Regions from separate parts of the Homo sapiens genome. Here region 1 is linked to region 2. The links are contacts of gene promoters, found by promoter capture Hi-C in human tissues and cell types (Jung and others, 2019). All regions are on one chromosome and are shown on one strand. The core of a region is centred on a gene start or on the middle of the fragment in contact, and the rest is flanking DNA. Distances in the headings are between cores, read along the strand shown. Region 1 overlaps SIAH3 (siah E3 ubiquitin protein ligase family member 3). Region 2 holds the start of LRRC63 (leucine rich repeat containing 63).

The links. The method cuts DNA at HindIII sites, captures the fragments that hold promoters and counts their contacts. A contact is called where the count stands out against the background at its distance.
Region 1: a contact is called between a fragment that was not itself captured here and the fragment with the promoter of LRRC63 in region 2, in 1 of the 25 tissues and cell types used here (dorsolateral prefrontal cortex).

The regions. Positions count from the first base shown.
Region 1 is chr13:45,820,876-45,824,348 of GRCh38, forward strand. All of the region lies in intron 1 of SIAH3 (siah E3 ubiquitin protein ligase family member 3), which reads right to left. Among named protein-coding and RNA genes, the nearest start is that of SIAH3, 29 kb to the right of the region's middle. The HindIII fragment of the contact is 3,191 bases long and covers 498-3,473 here.
Region 2 is chr13:46,210,204-46,213,357 of GRCh38, forward strand. It overlaps LRRC63 (leucine rich repeat containing 63), which reads left to right and starts at 1,725. Exons shown (of 10, transcript NM_001282460.2): 1 at 1,725-2,056; 2 at 2,799-2,916. The coding sequence starts at 2,832. LOC107984578 (a long non-coding RNA gene) reads right to left here and starts at 1,649. Exons shown (of 4, transcript XR_001749863.3): 1 at 1-1,649. RefSeq lists a silencer at 1,481-1,810. The HindIII fragment of the contact is 9,677 bases long and covers 1-3,154 here.

The DNA.
Region 1 (3,473 bases), core at 843-3,342, 390 kb before region 2:
TCTGGCCCTCTGCACGTAACATACTCTCTTCCAGGAATTTCCCCACCTCCGTCCTCCCCAGACTGTCTCCTACCAAGGTCTGTTGTTTCCTTCTCTGTGTTCCCCTCTGTCCCTTCTGCATATATATGAGTACCATTATGGGTTGAATAGTCTCCCAAAAAGATGTTCAGGCTCTAAACCCCAGTACCTGTGAACCTGCAGACGTGACCTTATTTGAAGATAGGGTCTTTAAAGTTGATTGAATTAAGGTGAGGTCATTAAGGTGGGCCCTAATCTAATATGACTGGTGTCTTTGTAAAAAGTGGAATTTGGAGGCAGAAACAGACATAGACACATAGAAAAGATGATGTGAGGACACAGGGAGAATGCCATCTACAAGCCATGGAATGCCCGAGGCTGCCATTAGGCAGGAGAAAGGCCTGGGACAAATTATCCCTCACAGCCTAGAAGGAACAAGCCCTGCCAACACCTGGACTGTGAGACAATCAATTCCTGTTATTCAAGCCACCTAATTCATGGTACTTTGTTGTGGCAGCTCTAGGATTCAAATACAGGTACTAGTAGCCCAATCACACTGTCACATGAATTTGATTTCTTGTCTCCCCAGCAAAGCCATTGGTTCTTAAAGGCCTGAACCTACTGCCCCATGGCCCAGTAGAGTGCCTGACACATAGTATGCCATCAAAAAAATTTGGTGTCATAAAAATAATTAGACTTCAAGGTGGAAAATCACCGTAGAGATTTTTAACCATTGTCCTAATTAACTATAGCAAAGATGCTAATTATGAGCAAGTGTTATGCAAATGACTCTGTGGCCCTCTTAATTATATCATTACCTAGACATGGCCCCTAGGAAATAGCTGCGCTCAATTCTTGGGTTGAAAATCAATGAGAGTGGGGCCAAAAGGCAGTCAAGAGACAGTTTGTTGCTCAGCACGTTGGGTAGGAAGAGAGAACAAGAACAAATGTTCACTGTGAAATATCTGGAGGTTCTTTTTCATGTGCCCAGTTGATTTCTGCTTCTTATCTTTCAGCACCACCCTCCACAGAGCAGGGGTAGGGGCCTGAGTACCAGCCAGGAGTGATTTATGAGGGTTATCAGTGGCCGTTGTAGGGAATGCTTCACACCTGTGGGTCCCCGGCAGGACTATACCCCTTTGCTCTTGTGACATGTGTCCCCTGCTGCAAGTGACACGTGGACCCAGAGTGTCTCAGAGAAATCTGGCTCCTTGGCGCTCCCAGTCCAAGCTCCCCAGCATCATCCCTGAGACAGCTGGTGCAACAGGGAGCTTTTCTGAAGACACTGGGGTCTCAATGCGGACCTATATGGTGTCCCACTGCCATGATTCAGGAACAGAGAACAGAAAAATTGCTGTCTTTCTAGAATGTGATCTGGGAACTTGTTCTTCAGCTCCAATATAATTTTCCTAGAGGTGAACATATTTTCTTAGCAATCATTCATTATTTTTTCCAAGTATAGTAAGACAGTATATTGGACCATTTGAAAACAGACTGAGCCAAAAGGACTTTTAAGATCATTAAACTGCATTTGGATTTGAGTCTTTCTGATCTAAGCTTCAGTTACAAATTTACTAACTTGAGTGATCAATGCTGTGAAGAAGTGAGCTAACATTTTCATTATCAAATATATATATATATATATATATATATATATATATATTAGACTAGGGAACAGGCAAAAATGGTATTAATAATGATTGCCTCTGGGCAGTAGGATTATAGGTGATTTTATTTTCTTATATTTTTGATTTCCTAATTTTGAAAATGAACTTATTTTTTATATCATCAGAAAAATGTTACTTGTAAAGGACTTGAAATCCTCAGCCTGGATGACAAATGTTTGCTGTTTGGGAGCTGGGTGTGCCGCAGGCCTGGAAGACAGAAACTCATCATTGTCCTGAAACGGAGCTGGTTTTAAAGTGCCGTGTTCTTGCACTTCACGGCCTGCCCCATGGCCTCCTCCCCAGCCTGGAAAGTTATCTCTGTGAGGCTGTTTTTATTTTCTTTCTTAATGAGGAAATGAAGAACAAAGGCCACAAAGTCGTCCCAAGGTCCTTGCACCCTGGAGAGGGGCGAGCACTTTAGGAGCTCTTTGAATCCCTCCCTCTCCAGACAGAAAGCTTCTCCTTAGATCTAACCCGTCCCCTCTGCTCCAGATTAAAGCTGTTAGCTCTTATTTGAACCTCAGTAGAAGGTGGGCATCCTATTCCATAATAGTCCTGGGTCTACTTGAATAATAAAAGAATTACAACTCGTATTCTCATGACGCTTTAGAGTGGTGATTTCTTAACTGTAAAGGCACAATCTAACTGCCTGGGGAGCGTTTAACGAAGACCACTGCCTGGCCCAACCCTAGAGTGCTGACTTAATCGGTCTGGGGTGGGCACCTACAGCTGGAGTTCTGTAAAAGCTCCCCAGGCAATTCTAATACGTGGCCAGAGCTGAAAACTGCTGCTTCCGAATTTTTAAAGCACGTGTACACTATTTCAGCTGATCCTCAGAACCACTATAGGCAAGGCAAGTCTGCCCTATTTTCCCAGGCAGGTCTTTTTATAGCATTACTTTAAAAACCTTAAATCTCAGTCTACTTCTGGAGTTTTTCCAATTTTCTTTTCCTTTGTGAAATCTACCGTTGATATGCCTTTCAGCTTTAAAACTCTCCAGTTACCTGAATGTAAACTCTCAGCCCTAGAGAACTCCATCTATTCTGTGATTCTCCAAGCACTTGAAAGATTTTGGTCTCAAAACTGCTATCCAAAGACACCATGAAGCCTGTCCTGCTTCTCATCACTCAGCACTATCCTACCCTACCTTTAAGACAAGGTCAAAAGATGCAAAGGCCTTCAGGGCCAGCAGGCACTGTGCAAGTGTTAATCTGGTGGTTTAGTCCTACAGGCCTGACAGTATAGGGAGTGGTGCTGACAGTGTTTGTCAAAGATCTGGGCTGTGACCTGGTGTGACCTTGGGCAAATTACTTACTGGCTCTGAGCCTCAGCTCTCTCCTCTGTAGTAACATTGGGACTGTATTTTTAAAAAAATATTATTTTAGATTCAAGGGTACATGTGCAGGCTTGTTACATGGGTATATTGAGTGATGTTGAGGTTTGGGTTTCTAGTAAACCCATCACCCAAACAGTGAACATAGTACCAAATAGTCTACATTTTAGGCCTTACAAAGGTCAAAGATCCATTCTCATCTGTTTAATCTTCACCACTCTATAATTAGGGCAATTTTTACAACCCGTTTTACATACTAGGCAAATCTGACTTAGGTTTAAGTGAACTTCAGTTAAAAAATTATACAAGTAAAAACTGGCAGAACTTGGTTTTGAAGTCAATTCCTTTTAGTGCCAAACCCTTTATTTGTCCCACAACGCCACATCGAATTCTCTAAGAGTGTCAGTAATGTTAGCTGCCTCAAAGGGTTGTAAGTTAGATTGAATGTAGTCAGG
Region 2 (3,154 bases), core at 475-2,974:
TTGAGGGGATAATATTTTCAAAAATATAAGAACTATAAAATAATCTAAATTGAATTTTGTTTGTCCTGTCTAAACTCATCCTATACTGATATATCATTTCCATAGACAAAGCGAGTCAGATGTGTTAGAATAACATATATACATATAAAATATACCAAGCCATGGATTTAATTTTCATAATAACTATCTCATTTGCCTAAATGTTTGGTACTAAGTGGTAGAAATAGAAGACAAAATGTTCACACCTGAGATTACATATTAAACCGCCCTAGGTTTTAGTCTCATACTTGCTAGAAGAAATCTGCAAGGAATGATACCTGGATGCCTGCGGATTCCAAGTGTGACAAAGCATTTTTTGAAAAAGCATTCAGAAGCCTTGCTTTCGACTACACAAAGCTAAGCATAAATTTTAAAGGCCAAACGTCAGTCAGTAAAACTGAATTCCTGTAGTTCTCATGGTTCCAACGATCTTGAAGAGCATAGGTACCTGACTCAATTTACACTGTCATTTTTTATGCTTAAAAATATAAACCTTTTTTCACATTTACAAAATATGCACGATATATATTACTTGAGACTAATCTTAGCCACAGAGCTGCCTTTTATTTTCAGCTTTGTATTTCTGAGAAACTAATGAATCTATGGTGTAGATAACAGCAAAAGTGGAAATAAATTCATAGTCTGGGGCAGCAGTATAATTGGGACACAGTAAACTTACAAGGAAAAGAAACAGTACACTACTACTGTAAAGGAAAACAAGTTGCATAATATTTTCCAGAGTCTGATTACTTTTTTGTTAAAACTTTTCTACTTTTTTCATTGATTGTTTTAAAACATGTTTGCTACTAAGGAGAAAAAGGAAGACATGGTTATGGTGTGAATCTTGAAAGATCCCCAAAGCTAGAAAGATTTATACAGAAGTCTCTCATTTTCCAACTTCTGTTATAAAGTTCCTGCGCTAGTACTTAGAAAAAACCAAACCTGGAAGGAAGCTCTACCTAGTTTACTTTCTGAGTTCGGATTTCCGCATCTATCAGATGAGCTCTTTCTAGTGCTCTTTCCCCCTCAAATCTCCAGAGAAACACGCACATTTTTGCAAACACACACGATGTATCTATGACTGCACACACAGGTTCATCAACACCATGACAGAGGCGACACGTCACAATATGATAACCAGAACAGAGGACGATGACAGTGAGAAATGGGTTTCTTTTATGGCCCGCTTGGATCCCTAATGCCCTTATTTCTACACAATCCAGCCTCAGCCAGGAACTTTAAAGGATCAGAAAGAGAAAACAGGTTGCATGAAAGGAAGAGAAAGAAAACCGAATGCCCGCTTTTCGAGAGCACTGCAAAATTAGCCCCGGGACCCGGCTGCACAAAAGTGCAGCCTTAAAGAATGCCAGCCCATATTCTAGACACCCAAGTAAAGCATCCTGTAATCGAGAGAAAATAATAAATAATAGTGGTCATTGCCATTAAGCATAAAAATAGTAATAACAATTGTCACCACGGCGTTCCGTACAGCAGCTGCGCGTGGAGCCGGCTTCTCCTCCGGCCCCCACGGCCCGCAGCTTCCCCTGCAGCCCCACAGTGCGTCGGAGGAAGGCGAGGGCTCCGCGCGCGCTGCACCGTGGGCTGGGCCTGCCCCTCCCGGCGCCCGCCTCGCCTCGCCTGTCCCGCGCCCGCCTCGCCTGTCCCGCCCCCGCGCCTGCGCGTCAAGTGGCTGGGCTGGCTTAGCGGACCCCGGTTGCTAGGGTGTGTCTCCTTGGCCTCCTAGAGGGTGGGGATCCGTGGTGCTTCTTCGGGAACAGCCTCCTGCAGGAAGACCCTCGCTGGACCTTTACCTCGCTGCCTAGATTCCGAGGAAAAGGAGATAGGAGACGAAAAGCCAGTTGGTTTGGAAAGCGGCCGATTATCCTAAAGGGTAGTGTGGGAGTCCAGCACTTCCATGCCCCTCTTTGGGTACTACGGAAGGGAGATTTCCAGCATCGTGTGGAACATATGACCAGGGAGTACACCTTGAGCGCTTGTGTGCAGTTATCTTTTGGCGGTAAACGGCCCATTTGTGCAGTTTCAGGGTGTTCCCTTCTAGGCTATCAATGGAATAATGCCGTGCCAGGCACTTTTGATGTTGCCCTGCAAACTAAAAGCACATTTTGGGGGTGCATCTTCTCGCATTATTTCTAAACAGTATGAGTTGGGATCCAGCAGCCCTGGGAAATCTCATTATAGTGAAACCCATCTTATTTTAGGATTGAATTGTTTTGGCCCAAGCATAGTGGTTGAAAAACAAGCCATTATAGAAAGAAAACAATTTGTTTGTGAATGGTTAGATATGGTGGGTCTTCAGAGGCTTATCTAATGAAGGCATCTTCTACACATTTCTGACCAAATTCTCTTTCTACATTTATAGCGATAACATTTTGGAGAGAGAGAAAAAAAATGTCATTTCGACTATTCTGAAAAATCAGTATTTACTAGTTGAAATAGCATTGGCAAATTGAACTTTGTACTAACATGGAAAATTGTAGAATGATCCTGGGTAGTAATAATACACATATTTTTAAAATTCTATGTTTACTTATAACCCTACATTTTAACTGGATTCTTTCTATTAATAGAAGTTTTAAAGAATTATTTTCTTACCCTCTTTTTTTTTCATAAAGGAATTCTGCCTGGATTCAGTAGAGTATTGGTACAGAATGATTTTCTTTAAGATGTAATCTAAATTCTTATTATTTTTCAACAATTCAAACATATTCAAAACCTTTTCAATTCTCATTTAAACCAAGGATTATGAAAAACAGCACTTATTATTCATTAAAATGCAAAAGCCCCCACTGCTTCTTCGAAGACCCTTACCTCCAAAATTCACTAAGCTGTCTTTACATGAGAAAAAAACCCATACAGGTATGTGTATTAATCAGATATGTGTATTAACATTTATGTATCTTTCATAGAAATTCCTTGACTTGCACAGCTCAGAATCACAATAAATACACTCACTAATAACTTACAAATGTTTGTTGTCAGGTGATAACATCCAATTCAATTCCACAGATGCATTTACTGATACTTATTGGTGGACTTAGTAGATTCAAGTTTATCTCATCGATAAAATTTACTTGTAACCCCAGAATTGGTACTC